2 separate regions of the Homo sapiens genome follow, and region 1 is linked to region 2. Evidence: promoter capture Hi-C in human tissues and cell types (Jung and others, 2019). All regions are on one chromosome and are shown on one strand. Each heading gives the region's core, a stretch centred on a gene start or on the middle of the fragment in contact. The rest is flanking DNA. Distances are from core to core; before and after follow the strand shown. Region 1 holds the start of APC2 (APC regulator of Wnt signaling pathway 2). Region 2 holds the start of REXO1 (RNA exonuclease 1 homolog).

The links. The method cuts DNA at HindIII sites, captures the fragments that hold promoters and counts their contacts. A contact is called where the count stands out against the background at its distance.
Region 1: a contact is called between the fragment with the promoter of APC2 here and the fragment with the promoter of REXO1 in region 2, in 1 of the 25 tissues and cell types used here (dorsolateral prefrontal cortex).

Annotation. Positions count from the first base shown.
Region 1 is chr19:1,447,258-1,451,370 of GRCh38, reverse strand. APC2 (APC regulator of Wnt signaling pathway 2) reads right to left here and starts at 1,250. Exons shown (of 15, transcript NM_005883.3): 1 at 1,033-1,250. RefSeq lists a silencer at 1,204-1,403. The HindIII fragment of the contact is 30,284 bases long and covers 1-4,113 here.
Region 2 is chr19:1,846,531-1,850,321 of GRCh38, reverse strand. It overlaps REXO1 (RNA exonuclease 1 homolog), which reads left to right and starts at 1,839. Exons shown (of 16, transcript NM_020695.4): 1 at 1,839-2,120. The coding sequence starts at 1,964. RefSeq lists enhancers at 1,372-1,451, 1,472-1,621 and a silencer at 1,642-2,111. The HindIII fragment of the contact is 7,366 bases long and covers 1-3,791 here.

The DNA.
Region 1 (4,113 bases), core at 1-2,500, 400 kb after region 2:
GGTCACCATCCCATGCCCAGCCAGGTGGAAGGACCAGATGACGTGCAAAGCAACACATGTCTGCCTCCTGCTCCCCAAACCCAGGCCTCCCCCACGTGGTTCTTCTCAGCTGACCGAAGCCAAGCCTCAGACACCTTCCCTCTCCCCACATTCGGTGGTCATTTCTGCATCCTCATCAGACTAAGCTAGTCCCTCCAAGCTCTGCCCAGCGGGATCATGCCTCCCCCAGCTCCTGACACCCCTCTGTGAGGACATTCTGATCAGCCTCTTCCTGGCCTCCCACAGTCCCCCATGCACAGCCAGAGGGAGCTTTAAACGTCACAAGTGAGATCCCATTTCTCCCATGCTCAAACACCTTCCATGGCTCCCCAGTGCCCTCAGGATACGCTCCGACTCCTCCATGTACACCGCGACTCACTTAGAGGCTGGAGGCTCTCTTCTCTCAGGCCTTTGCACGTGCAGTTGCCCTGCCTAGAGCACCTTTTCTAAGTCCTGCCATCCCACACAGTGCAGCTTCTTCCACGAAGCTCTTCTGCCTACTTTCACCCCCAGGTTGCATCGTGTAGCCTCCTGGGGGCCTTCCTGAGCGATCACTCCCTGAAGGCACCATGACTGGGGGCTGGTCTTATTGAGCGGGCTGCATTTCAGGGGAGGGAGGCACAGGTATGGGAAGCCAGGCCCAAAGGGGCCTTTCTCCTTCCTTTAATCCAAACCCCCTCTTTCCAGAGAGGGAAACTGACACCCAGAGAGGTGCAGCAACACCCCCGAAGACACACCACTGGCCTGCCCATCCCTTCCTCCGATCACCTCAGGGAGGTCCGGATGGTGAAGCCCGTGAGTGGGTGTGTGCGCAGGACCGGCTGCAGAAACGCTGACGCCCAGCTCACCGGGACTCAGTTTCCCCTCCAGCTCCCACTCTGGGGAAATGGAGGGTCCAGAGTCTGTGCTGACGGGCAATGCTGAGAGCCAGGGATGGAAACCTCGACGCGAGGCGGAGGTCGCGCCCCTGCCCTCCTCCCCGAGGACACACACCCGCTTACGTGCAGCTGGGCTGGCGGGGCGCCTGGGTCTGGGGCCTCCTCCCTCTGCGCGGCTCCGCGGGCCCCACCGGAAATCCCGGCCCGGGGTGGCCTCGGAGCGCGCGGGCTCCGGGGTCTCCGCGGCGCGGGCAGGGGCTCCGGGGCGGACAAAGCCCGGTCCGGGCCTGGGCAGGCGGCGCTGCCGCTCCTAGCGCTGGGCGAGACCACCGCGAGCGGGGGAGGATGCGGGATGAGGGATGCGGGTGAGACAGCCAATGAGGGCGCGGGAAGACGGGCTGGTGCCATGGCAACAGCCAATGGCGGCCCGGGGCGGGGACCGGCGTCGGCCGCGGGGCGTCGGGCCTCCGCGCGGGCTCAGGGGCCGTGAGTGCGGGGGGCGAAACCCCCCCGAGGGAAGGGGGTGCCCCGAGGACCAAGATTCCTGTGTCCCGCACTTTATTGCAGGGTGCAACGGCCTCTTAAAACCTCCTGCGTCTGGATTTGCAGAATTGGAGAGTAAAACATCAAATCCTGGATGTTACATCAGCATCTTGGCGGGGGAGGGGTTTCCAGGGCAGTGGCCGGGCTGGGGCCAGGCCTGCACCCACCCCACAGGTCCAGCCTGGCCTGGTGCAGGTGCGTCAGGGTGGGACAGGGTTCGGGTCCAGGCTGGAGCTCCCTGAGGGTCCTGCCTGGTGGGGAGGGGAGAGGGGAGGAGGGGCAGGGCCACTGGGGAGCACCTGGGACGCTGCATCTCCCCACATTTCTCCCTGTCTCCCCAACGGAGCGTCAGATCCTCCTGTAACTCCGTTGCTCTTCATGTCCCTCTCTCTTTCTGTCTCCCCCTCTGTTCTCTGTCTCTCAATCTCTGTCTCCATGTGTCTCTGCCCCTGGTGGGTGGCACACTTAATTCACCCTCACGGACCGAAGGCCAGAGGAGGGAAGGGCCAGGGGTCCCAGGAGTCGCCATCTCCAGGTGTCCTGGATGCTCCATGAGTCCCTGGAAGCCATTTGAAGGTTTAACACACAGAGCCCGTCCCTGCAGCTCGGAGCAGCCCTTCCTGCTCTGGACACAGACTCACAGCACAGAAAGGGAGGCGACTGGGGCCAGAAGAGTGATTTTTTTCCGTGCTGGGCAGGCAGGGCAAATCATTCGCCGCTCAACCCTCGGTTTCCTCCTCTGTAAAATGGAGAGGAGGCGGAAGATTCTGCAAGGGCTGGTGCAGGGAATGATAGGAGAGGGTGGGAAGGTCCGAGTATTCAAGGCCCCGTAGACAAAGGCAAGGGAGGACCCGTGCTGTTTCCTGTTGGGCCTTGAGCTGAAGACCCGAGGGCCTTGTCCCGGGCCAGCACTGCCAGGGGCTGAGAGCCCTTCGGCCTGGCTGTCTGGGAGCCCCCAGAGCTGGACGCAGCTGTCCCCACTGGTTGGGTCTGGGGAGGCAATGCAGTGGGCAGACACAGGGGATCTTTTCTTTTTTCTTTTTCTTTTTTTTCTTTTTTTTTTTTTTGAGACGGAGTCTTGCTCTGTAGCCCAGGCTGGAGTGCAGTGGCACGTTCTCGGCTCACTGCAAGCTCCGCCTCCCAGGTTCACGCCATTCTCCTGCCTCAGCCTCCCGAGTAGCTGGGACTACAGGCGCCCGCCACCACGCCCAGGCTAATTTTTTGTATTTTTTAGTAGAGACGGGATTTCACGTTAGCCAGGATGGTCTCGATCTCCTGACCTCGTGATCCACCCGCCTCGGCCTCCCAAAGTGCTGGGATTACAGGCGTGAACCACCACGCCCGGCCTTTTTTTTTTTTTTTTTTTAGATGGGGTCTTGCTCTGTCCCCCAGGCTGCAGTGCAGTGGCGCCATCTCGGCTCACCGCAACCTCCGCCTCCTGGGTTCAAGTGATTCTCCTGCCTCAGACTCCTCAGTAACTGGGATTACAGGCATGTACCACCTTGCCAGCTAATTTTTGTATTTTTAATAGAGAGGGGGTTTCACCGTGTTGGTCGGGCTGGTCTCAAACTCCTGACCTCATGATCCGCCCGCCTCGAAGGGGATTTTTTTCTGGAGGCTGGAAGGCTGCCCTGAGAAGTGAACAGCAGTGATCAGGAGGAGAGGCGTTCCAGGCTGAGGGAAGATCAATGCATGCTTGGGACACAGGGGGTGTCTGGTGGAGCCATGGGGTAGGGCGCGTGGTGGGGTTTGACAGGTCAAGCCGGGGCAGAGCTGGGCGAGGCTGAAATGGGGTTGGGGATGCAGAGCCCAGGGCCCTGGCTTCAGCTCAGCCTTGTTGTCCCTGTGTCCCCCTGGGCATGTCTCTCTCTGGCCTCGGTTTCCAGTCTTGTTTACTGAAGGGTGGGTTGGATGATCCCTGCCTCCCCCAAAGAGGAACTAAGTCCCACCTCCCTGTGTAGTTTCAGATGTCTCAGCTCCCCAGGCCCCCATCAGGCAGGGGTTTGGGGGATCCAAGGTCAGTCCTGTCCTTGTATACATGGGGAAACTGAGGCCTGGGCCAGGGAACGTGTTGCCTGAGTTCACCTGTGCCAGCCAGGCCTCCGGAGTGACACTGAACCTCCCTTCTTATCCCTCTGGGGGTGGCCAGGGCCTGGAGGGCTGAGGGTACATGGGGGCTGAGACCCCAAGACAAGATGCCCTTGGCCCCAAATCTACAAAACATTATGTCCCTGAACAATCCCCCCCCACACACTAAAATCCTCGACCCTGTAAATCCTTGAACCACAGCCACACTCAGACATCACCAGACATTTCAGAGCCTCAAGAACCCCCCACAGCCCCCTAGGACTTCAGGAGACTGAGAGAGGTCTCCCCCTTCTCCCACTGCAGAACGCAGGGCCTAGCCCAAGACCCCGACCTAGGCTCCTCCCTGGGGTCCTCCACGCCCCCTACTGCTGCTGGGCTAAAGGGGAAGTTCCATGAAATGCTCACTCCCCCACCCCTGTCCTGTGACACCTCCCCGCAAGTCCGCAGCCTGGCACACGGCTCACTCTTGGAGTGTCTTTGAGCCTTCTGAGTCTGACCTCGAGCTGTCCCCGCCCCCTTGATGCCTCCTCTGTGCCAGGGGCTAGAGGCAGAAACAGGGGCGGCC
Region 2 (3,791 bases), core at 590-3,089:
TTCAGGCTGTCTCACTTATTGCTGTGTTCATTGTCGGCCTCCCTGCCTACACCATCACCTCCACCAGAGTGGGGTTCTCTGCTCTGCTTATGGATGTTTCTAGCATTTTGTGGCACACAGTAGGTGCTCAGTAACTATTTGCTGAATGAATGACCGACACCAGCCGGCACGGATGGAGCAATCGCATAAATGAGAGTTCATCTCTCACGCATCATCAGGAGCCATGACAGGGAGTCTACGCCTCCACTGCCCATGATAGGACAGCTTTGAGATTAGATCAGGTCCTCTGCAGAGTCGCCCATGACCCATCCCAACCCACGTCCCCTCATCATTGCATCCTGTCATTTATTTATAATTGTGGTAAAATCACATGCACATAACATAAAATTTGTCATCTTAACCATTGTATTGTTATTTGAGACGGACTGTCACTCTGTCACCCAGGCTGGAGTGCAGTGGTGCAATCTTGGCTCACTGCAACCTCCGCTTCCCAGGTTCAAGTGATTCTCCTGCTTCAGCCTCCCAAGTAGTTGGGACTACAGGCGCCCGCCACCACGCCCAGCTAATTTTTGTATTTTTAATAGAGGTGGGGTTTCGCCATCTTGGCCAGGCTGGTCTCAAACTCCTGACCTCGGTTGATCTTCCCTCCTCGGCCTCCCAAAGAGCTGGGATTACAGGCGTGAGCCATCGCGCCCAGCTAATTTTTGTATTTTTAGTAGGACAGGGTTTTGCCATATTGGCCAAGCTGGTCTTGAAATCCTGGGCTCAAGTGATCCACCCGCCTCAGCCTCCCAGAGTGTTGGGATTACAGACATGAGCCACTGTGCCCGACCTAAGACTTTGCTTTCTATTCTTTTTGGGTGTATACCCAGGAATAGAGTTGCTCATAGGGTAATTCTGTTTAACTTTTTCCATCTCTACACAAAATACAAAAAATTAGCCAGGCATGATGGTGCACACCTGTGGTTTTAGCTACTCGGGAGGCTGAGGTGGGAGAATCACCTGAGCCAGGGAAGTCGAGGCTGCAGTGAGCCGTGATCGCACCACTGCTCTCCAGCCTGGGTGACAGAGCAAGACCCTGTCTCTTAAAAACAAACTTTTTGGGTTTTTTGTTTTACATAGCAGTGGCACTATTTTACAATCCCACCAAAATGCACCAGGTTAAACTTCCCATTAAGACGTGGGCCTACTCCACCAGACTACAGAGTTGCCCCATCCCAGCCTTGTTCCTCGTTTGTCTGTTAAAATGCACCCTCTAGCTGGTATACAGTAGGCGCTCAATATTTGTTGAACAAATGAGTGAACGTGGACCTGGTCATTAGACTGATGACAAGAGTCGAGGTTGGGGAGATTAAGGCGTTTCTTGAGAGCCAGCTGTATACCAGGGCGAGGGGATTTTTAAAGACTGTGAACGGAGTAATTCAACCATGAGTTTCACCTGGCCCAGGTTTAAGGCCACCTCCCCGCAGAACTCTCCTCGTCCAGCAGAGGGCGCCTTAAGGTGATATGCTAACGAAAGGAAATAATATGCAAATGAGTAATAGCGGGCCCCGCGGGGCTTTTTTGGTCAGGCGCGCCGTGGACAGCCCTGGCGCCGCAGGGGCCTGGGGCTCAAGATGGCGCCGCTACAGCCGCCGAAGGTCGGGCGGCGGCGCTGGCGAGGCTCCCGGAGACCGCAGGCAGGGCAGCCCCTGCCCTCCTTACTTCCTCCCGCGGCCGTCTGTCCCGGCCCAGGGGTCCGTCACCAGCCTTGGTCGCGCAGGAGCAGGCGTTTCTGAGCAGGCGCGCTGCGGGCAGCCCCTCCCGGGGTCCCTTGCGGCGGCGTCCCGAGGGCCTCCGGGGGCCTCGGAGCAAGATGGCGGCGGCGGGGTCCGTGAGGCGCGGGCGGCGGCGACCGCGGCGCCAGTGAGGGGGCCCTGGGGCCCGGGCGGCTCCGGGCCGGGGCCCCGCCGCGGGACGGACCATGCTACGCTCCACTGGCTTCTTCCGGGCCATTGACTGCCCCTATTGGTCTGGGGCGCCCGGGGGGCCCTGCCGGCGGCCCTACTGCCACTTCCGGCACCGCGGGGCCCGGGGCTCCGGCGCGCCCGGTGACGGCGGAGAGGCGCCCCCCGCAGCAGGTAATGCCCGCCCGCCTGCTTGCCTTGGGCTCGGCTCCCCTGCCCGGGTCTGGACCCCACCCCGGTCCCGCCCGGGGTCCCCGTTCTCGGCCCAGCCTCCTCCCCACACGTTCGCGGGCGACGGTTTTCCCAGTCGGGACCGGAACCACCCACCCTGGGACCCGGTGCAAAGCACTAGATGTCCCTAAGCCTTCGTCTTCACGAGTGTGAAATGTCAACTAGGAGGACGCGTCCTGCCAGGGCTGTCTAGAGGGCGGAGTGCGAGCGCATGTTGAGTACCGGGCACCGGGCCTGACACAAGGGGGCTCGGGAGACGGGCGCGGCCGGCGCTAGGCAGGTCCTGGACTCCTCCTGCCCCTGATTGGCGCCCGCCGCTTCCCGGACCCCATGTGCTTGTGGCCGCCCTTGTTTATTTCCATGACGTTTCCTCCGGCCGCGCCTCTGGCAGCGGCCACCTCAGTCTCCAGTCGTTGAGTTAGGATGGTCCGAGGATCGTCTCTTGTGTTTGTCGAGCCCTGTGTCCAGCATGACTGGCAGGGAGGAAGTCAAAGCTTACTCGAGTGGGCTCCGAGGAATTCCATGCTTTTGGTCGGGCAGAGGACGTTGGTGGACTCCACCTCACAGCGTCATGGTGGTTTTCATCGTCATGGCAGCGTTTCTTGGAGGAGATGTGGGATTTGGATTGGAGAAAAAGAGGGACATCGCAAGGAAAGTCGTGGAGGGAGGGTTATCGAGTGTGATGTCATTCAGACTCCCCTGTTACCTCTGTCCCTTGATAGTGGCTCTCTGCTTCACCCAGCCCCTGACTTCCTTCGTCCCAGATTTCCTCATTGGGCGTGAGTTTCAAGCACTGTTTTTACTTTAACCATGAAACAGTCTCAGCTCAGAACCTTTTCCTGCAAAAGAGAAACATCTTCTCTAGGATTTAAGAATAGGTTTATTTTCCTGTTTTGCCAGAAAAGGTAGCATTTTTTTCTGATTTCCCTGATAAGTGTGCTTGGGACACCTGCACCTGTGGGCGGTTGTTTGCAGGTGGACAGATGCAAGCAATCACTTGTCAGCTCCCCACAGCCCAGCGTCTTCGCTGTGTTTGAGGCGGGGGATTCAGAGCTGCGTACGATGCCGGCTGTGCTCTCAGGGACCTGCCGACAGCTGTGCCTACAGATCCCGTAGCATAGGTCGTGATGTCCTGGGAGCACGCAGCCGGCTTTGGCGGGGGCTGGGAGTTGGTGAAGAAGGCAACGCGTGGGAGAGGCTTCTCGGAGGCTGTGACACCAGACTCACGATGCTCATTTTAACCCTATTTTTAGAGACAGGGTCTCACTCTATAGTCCAGGCTGGAGTGCAGTGGTGCGATCACAGCTCTTTGAGGCCTCGACCTCCTGGGCTCAAGGGATCCTCCTGCCTGAACCTCCTGAGTAGCTGGGACTATGGGCGGCGGGTGCCACCAAGCCTGGCTAACTTTGTATGTTTTCGTGGAGATAGGGTCTCGCTATGTTGTCCAGGCTTGTCTCAAAACTCCTGGCCTCGAGCCGACCTCCTGCTTCGGCCTCCCAAAGTGCTGGGGTTACAGGTGTGAGCTACTGCACCCGGCGCAAGTCAGGCTTATGATATCTGTCTGCATCCCAAATGGCTCATTTGTTTCCCAAAGGCTTATTTTTGAGGGTCCCT